Regions from separate parts of the Homo sapiens genome. Here region 2 is linked to region 1. The links are contacts of gene promoters, found by promoter capture Hi-C in blood cells and fetal thymus (Javierre and others, 2016). All regions are on one chromosome and are shown on one strand. The core of a region is centred on a gene start or on the middle of the fragment in contact, and the rest is flanking DNA. Distances in the headings are between cores, read along the strand shown.

The links. Contacts are between HindIII fragments. The CHiCAGO score rates a contact against its expected background, and 5 or more counts as called.
Region 2: a fragment that was not itself captured here is called in contact with the fragment with the promoter of CEBPD in region 1 in 1 of 17 cell types (neutrophils); the score reaches 7.8 in neutrophils.

The regions. Positions count from the first base shown.
Region 1 is chr8:47,736,379-47,739,704 of GRCh38, forward strand. It overlaps CEBPD (CCAAT enhancer binding protein delta), which reads right to left and starts at 1,786. Exons shown (of 1, transcript NM_005195.4): 1 at 535-1,786. The coding sequence starts at 1,742. The coding sequence ends at 933. RefSeq lists an enhancer at 810-1,748 and silencers at 1,145-1,334, 1,825-1,934, 1,975-2,054, 2,145-2,614. The HindIII fragment of the contact is 19,422 bases long and covers 1-3,326 here.
Region 2 is chr8:47,608,679-47,612,004 of GRCh38, forward strand. The region is part of intron 10 of SPIDR (scaffold protein involved in DNA repair); the gene reads left to right. Among named protein-coding and RNA genes, the nearest start is that of CEBPD, 130 kb to the right of the region's middle. RefSeq lists a silencer at 1,803-1,872. The HindIII fragment of the contact is 5,211 bases long and covers 1-3,326 here.

The DNA of each region.
Region 1 (3,326 bases), core at 536-3,035:
GACTGCCCTTTTCATCCACTACATGACTATTCCGGCCTTTCTGGAGCACTTTTGAAAATCTACTTGACTCTGTCCACAAGACTGAGGAAAGTGAAAGCAAAGTCCCGGGAAAGCGGGAGATGATTCAGCCCGGGGTTCTGCCCCTCGCCCCTCCAGCAGCCTCTACAGTTAGGGAGCTCTTGAACTGTTCTCAGCAGGGGCCCCCAAAAAGTCAACCCTTCCCCAGGTCTGCGTTCTTCGGGAGAACACCTTCTGCTGGAAAGCTGCTAGCTTACCTGAGCTCAGCCGTGCTCCACCTAGCTTAGGCAAGTTAAATAAGGCCAGGAGAGAGCCTTTAATGCGTTTTAAAAGCGACAGACCCTCTCTCCTGAGTAGCTCGGGCCTGCGCCCCATCCCCCCGCCCCCCCCACACACACACCTGGCGCCCGGGCTCCCTGGTGCTCGCTGGCTGCGGGTCCGGAACGCACCCTTCCCGAGCCGGGTCCTGCGCCACCGGCGGGCGGGCGGGAGTCACTGCGAATATAGGAAGCAGGGGCGATTTCAAATGCTGCTTTATTCTTACAAATACTGTAAAAATTAATATAAAAAAGTGAGCATGCTCAGTCTTTTCCTCTTATCTACAATACAAAGGGTTTGTCTGAAAAGTCTGGTTTTTTTTCTTTTTACAAATGTACCTTAGCTGCATCAACAGGAGTAAGATGTAGAAAAAGCTACCATTACAAAAATAATTTAAGGGAAAATAAACACGTTTAGCTTCTCTCGCAGTTTAGTGGTGGTAAGTCCAGGCTGTAGCTTCTTTGCGCTCCTATGTCCCAAGAAACTGCAGCGGGCACCCGGCGGCTCTGGCTGCGCCAGGGCAGGGCGCGCTCCGCTCCGGGCCGTCGGGTCTGAGGTATGGGTCGTTGCTGAGTCTCTCCCGCCCCGGCCGCGCGTTACCGGCAGTCTGCTGTCCCGGCGGCCGGCAGGAAGGGCGGGCTGGGCAGCTGCTTGAAGAACTGCCGGAGGCCGGCCAGGTCCCGCGTGAGCTGCTCCACGCGCTGGTGCAGCTTCTCGTTCTCAGCCGACAGCTCCACCAACTTCTGCTGCATCTCCTGGTTGCGCCGCTTGGCCTTGTCGCGGCTCTTGCGCACGGCGATGTTGTTGCGCTCGCGCCGCTGCCGGTACTCGGGGCTGCCGCGGTCCGGGCCCCTCTTGCCGGCGCTCTTCTCCCGGGCGGGGCCGGGCGCGGGGGTCTGCCTGGGGCTGCTGCGCGGCGGCTCCGGCGACGTGGGCGGGGTGGGCTGCCCTGCGGCCGCCAAGCTCACCACGGTCTGTGCGCACGCGGCCACCTGCGCGGGCAACAGCGAGCCGGGCGCGTCGCCGTCGCCCCAGTCGGGCTCGCGCTTGAGCAGGCGGGGAGCGGCAGGGCCCGGGCCCAAGGGGCGCGCGGGGCCGCCGGGAAGAAGCTCCAGGGGCCCCGCGCCGCCCGCCTTGTGATTGCTGTTGAAGAGGTCGGCGAAGAGCTCGTCGTGGCACAGCTCCAGGGTGGGCACGGCGGCCATGGAGTCGATGTAGGCGCTGAAGTCGATGGCGCTCTCGTCGTCGTACATGGCGGGGGCGGCGGCGCCTGGCTCGCCTAGGGCCCCTGGCTCGGCCCCGCGGCCCGGCTTGCCCGCCCGGCCCGGTTCGTAGAAGGGCGCAGGCTCCGCAGGCCAGGGCGCGCCGCGCGCCGGGCCGTCCAGGCTGAAGAGCGCGGCGCTCATGGCGGCGTCGGGCCGGGCTCTGCGTCCAAGCGAGGCTGTCACCTCGCTGGGCCCAGCCCCGCCGCCTTTTCTAGCCCCGGCTGACGTGCACGCCCCGCCCCGACTCCGGCACCGCGGGGGCGCCCCGGGGCCGCGGGGGAAGGGGCGGGGGCGCCCTGGGAGCCCCCCGGAGCCGCCCCGAGCCTTCCCGGGGCGCGCCCCCTCTCAGTTCCTCCCCGGGGCCCCCTCCCCGGCCCTGGGGACCCCCAGCCCACGTTGCAGGAGGGTGCCCGCGCTGCTGCTCCCTCCCCGGCCCGGGCCGGCCTGCGCTGCGCTGCTGGGAATGACACTCCCTCTGCCAGCACTCCAGGGCCTTCTCTTCTTCCTGTTTGTGGGCTTGGAACCTCCTCGCTCCTCGGGGTTGGGAGTGAAATCAAAACCAGGACTTGGCCGCAGCGCGCGCGTCCCAGGCCGGCTCCTGTCGCCGGAGGGCGGGGGGTGGAGACCCGTGGGAGAGGACCCGCGCGTCCAAGGACGCCCCCCGACCGTGGGCACGCGCGTGAGGCCCTCGCCCCGCGCCTCCACCGTGGGACCAGATGCGGGAAGAGGCGTGGGGGACCAGACGTGGGGACAGCGGCGGCCTGGCAGGCGGGGAGGGCTGCCCGCACCGCACTCGGGCGCCTCGGGGAATCCGGGCCGGTTCTCGCTGCTCTCCTCGGAGGTCCCGGGTCCGGCCGGCCCTGGGGGTCGAGGCCCAGAGACGCGGCTGCTGCGTCCTGGCCGAAAGGCCGACGGGACGCTGTCGCCAAAAGCAGAGCAGATGGGGGAGACGCGGTCACGACACCGCGTCCTCCGCCGGCTCCTCGAGGTGCGGGCTCTCCGGCCGGACGCTACTCCCCGACCCCGCAGACCCGGGCGTCCGCCGCCAGCTCCCGCGCCCGCGTTTCTTCCAGGTCTACGGAAGCAGTGCCATCGTGTGGCGGCATCTTGCGTTAGACCTGTTTTTAGTTCCAGGCTCTTTCCCTGTTAAATATTCCAAAAAAGTGCCTTGAACCTAAAGTAGTTGGGTCCTTTTTGGGAAACAGGTAAGATCTACCAGTAGCTATAGCAGGGTGCAGATGGGCCTCGACTCACGATGGGGTTACATCCCGGTAGACCCATCGCACACTGAAAATGTCTTAAGTAAGAATGGGCTTTGTCATGTGTCCTGCAATTTGAGGCAGGCATTTCTGGTCAGACCCATTTATTATTTTAAATTAAAAATATGGTTTTTTTCAGCCGAGCACAGTGGCTCATGCCGGTAATCCCAGCATTTTGGGAGGCTGAGGTGGGCGGATCACTTGAGGTCAGGAGTTTGAAACCAGCCTGGTCAACATGGTGAAACCCCATTTCTACTAAAAATACAAAAATTAGCCAAGCGTAGTGGCGTGCGCCTGTAATCCCAGCTACTCGGGAGGCTGAGGCAGGAGAATCGCTTGAACCCGGGAGGCGGAGGTTGCAGTGAGCCGAGATCGTTCCATTGCACTCCAGCCTGGGCGACAGAGCGAGACTCCATCTCAAAAAAAAAATTGAGATGGGATCTCACAATATTGTCCAGGCTGGTTT
Region 2 (3,326 bases), core at 327-2,826, 130 kb before region 1:
GATTTGCATTTCCTGATGACTAACAATGTTGAGCATCTTTTCTTTTTTTTATTTTTTATTTTTTGAGATGGAGTCTCGCTCTGTCGCCAGGGCGGAGTGCAGTGGCACGATCTCAGCTCACTGCAACCTCGGCCTCCTGGTTCCAGGCGATTCTTCTGCCTCAGCCTCCCGAGTAGCTGGGACTACACGTGCGTGTGCGCTACCACGCCCAGCTAATTTTTTGTATTTTTAGTAGAGACGGGGTTTCACCATGTTGGCCTGGATGGTCTCTATCTCTCGACCTCATCATCTGCCTGCCTCGGCCTCCCAAAGTGTTGGGATTACAGGCGTGAGCCACCGCACCCGGCTGAGCATCTTTTCATAGGCTATTGGCCATTTGTATATCTTCTTTAGAGAAATGTCTTTCAAGTCCTTTGCCTATTTTTAAAGTTGGATTATTTTTTGTTGTTGAATTGTAAGAGTTCTCTGTATAAGTCCTTTATCATTTGCAAATATTTTTTCCCATTCTGTGGAGTTTTTCACTTTTTTGATAGTGTCCTTTGAAACACAAAGATTTATCATTTTAATGAGGTCCAATTTGTCATTTTTGTTATTATTATTGCTTGTGTTTTCAGGGTCATAGCTAAGAAACCATTGGTGAATCCAAGGTTATGCAAACATACTTCTGTGTTTTCTTCTAAGAATTTTATAGCTTTTGCCCTTATATTTTGGTCTGTGATCCATTTTGAGTTAATTTGTGTGTATGGTCCAACATTGTGGGTTGGACCCTCCTTGTAGTTAGAGATTATGTTTAGTACTAGTAGTAGTCTTTATATTTTATTTAAATGTATATCTTATTTTTGGCATTTGTTACAGTTTGCACTGTTACGTCTTTGTGTGCATAGCATTTCTTCCTTTGTAGGTGGCAGAAAATGGATCCATTTCTCCACCCTTTGTCTCTTTTAGCTTTTATCATTTTATTGATCTAGTGTTTGGTTACAGCTATCTGATTGAAAAAGTAATAGTTTCAGAGTAGAGTTAGAGGTGTAAATAATATGAAAGTAATATGTACACGCTCTTTAAACACTTGATAATACCAACCTGTATCATTTGACCCATGTTATCATTTATAGCTATACACATTGAATAACTTTCTTGGTGAACTTACGGATAATATGAAAACTGCTGTGAAAGTTTTCATGCTCTTTTTTCCTATATATTAAACCAGTGATAGACTTAAAGGGAAAAGTGAAATGGAATGGCAACAGCCTGGGGATGTGAGTACAGACAATTATGAAGTTTTGGTAATAGAATGAAAACAGCAAGAGTAATTTTCCAGATTATGCTATGTGTAACCACCATTCTAAGTTTGCGTCTTAACCTGGCCATGGTGATTTTCCAGCACCTGTCATCCATGAAGATCAAGAAGGATTTCAAGGTGGCCCTATATAAAAGCCATGGAATTTTTTCCTCCCTGTTTCTGACCTCCTTTCTCTGGAAACTTTTGTTCCTAAAAGAGACTGGAGACCTGGAACAGTCTCCCTACTCTTCCCACCGTACCCCCACCCCATTCCTGCAGCTGCAATCTGGAGCAGCACTGTGATCACACTAGATCACACTTTCCTGTGAGTCAGACTGCAGCTCTGGAATGTGCTTTGCTGAGATGACGGCACAGAGAAGAGCCATGGGAGACAGAGCACACAGCCTGGCAGAGTCTTCAGGGGTGGCCAGATGCAAGCACACAGTGCCACGTGCCTCTGTGGGCATGAAGCAGAGAAAGGATGAGATCAAGCCTGACCCAACTTGACTTCCTCCTCTAGCTGAGCCACCGCACCTTGCTGCCCCTCTCCTCCCCTTTTGCCTCTGTCAAATGACCTACTCTGCCCTCTCTCCCAGCTGCTGCTAGACCCAGAGCACTTGGTGCAGCCAGCTGGCGGGTTTGGTAGGCTCACCCTTGTTGTGCTGATTTCTTGGCTCCACAGTTCTCAATGGCTTGAGCCAGCTCAGCTCTTTCTCCACAGGGAACTGGAGCAAAAATCCTGTAGAGCAATTCTTGGGTTGGACACCCCCTTCCCACGAGAGAGGATTATACATGAACAGATGCCCTTGTTTCTTCCTCACTTGCTGCTCTGGCACTGGTATTATAAATGGTCTGAATTTTCACATTTATTTGCACAGATACAAAAGACAGTGACAGATGCTTGATTATATAGTGAGACTAACAACCAGGTATTAAACATTGCACTGATACTTGTCATTGCCTTCAAAATAAGCTCTACGTGTTTTCTTTACTTCAGTTGTCTCATTTAACCATAAATAAGTCCTCAGAGGTCAGGGGCTGTGACTCATCTGGTTTTGGTACTGGACCATGAATGCAGTAGACACCCAGCAAGTATGGGTTGATGGGAAACAGCAATGGCTGATTGAGCAGCTGAGAAGGTGGGGTGAGGTTGTGGCTCCCCTTCTCTTCTCAGGATGAACCAGTCCATGGAGTTGTGCTACAAATGTTGTTGTTTGTCTAAGGAGATTGATGAGAATGCCAGTGAGCTAGAAATTGCCAGGAATACTCTGCTTTGGGACAGAGGTGATGTCTAGTCTGTTCCAATCAGATAGAGGATGAGACACTGGGAACCAAGGTCCCTGAAGAATATTCAGTCAGTGTAAACAAACAGGGAACAGCACAAGGAGGGACACTTAGGAAAGTGGCAAGGGAGGAACAAGGGCAGCTCTTGGGTGAAGATGTTTATAAAGAAAATAGAGGCTGGGCCCGGTGTCTCACGCCTGTAATCCCAGCACTTTGGGAGGCCGAGACGGGCAGATCACGAGGTCAGGAGATCGAGACCATCCTGGCTAACACAGTGAAACCCCGTCTCTACTAAAAATACAAAAAATTAGCCAGGCATGGTGGCTGGTGCCTGTAGTCCCAGCTACTTGGGAGGCTGAGGCAGGAGAGTGGCGTCAACCCAGGAGGCGGAGCTTGCAGTGAGCCCAGATCACACCACTGCACTCCAGCCTGGGCAACAGAGCGAGACTCCATCTCAAAAAAAAAAGAAAATAGAGAATTCAGTCGATAATGATGTAAGGGTTTTAAAGCATTTATTACAATTAATATAGAACTGAAAGTTCAAGCAAAAATTAAGCAACCACAGGCAGATGATAGAAGAATTAAAATATGACATTTAACATTGAATGAAATAAAATTACCTGAGAGGAAGGAACTCATCATTTGAATTAAACAAAAAAGGAGAACTGAGCCGTCAAGAGGTAGCTTGTGGGGAGAGACTCCTCAGGCCTCTGGTAGTTGTATGTCAAGGCAACTGTGTGAGGCCTTCCACACGTACCTGGCC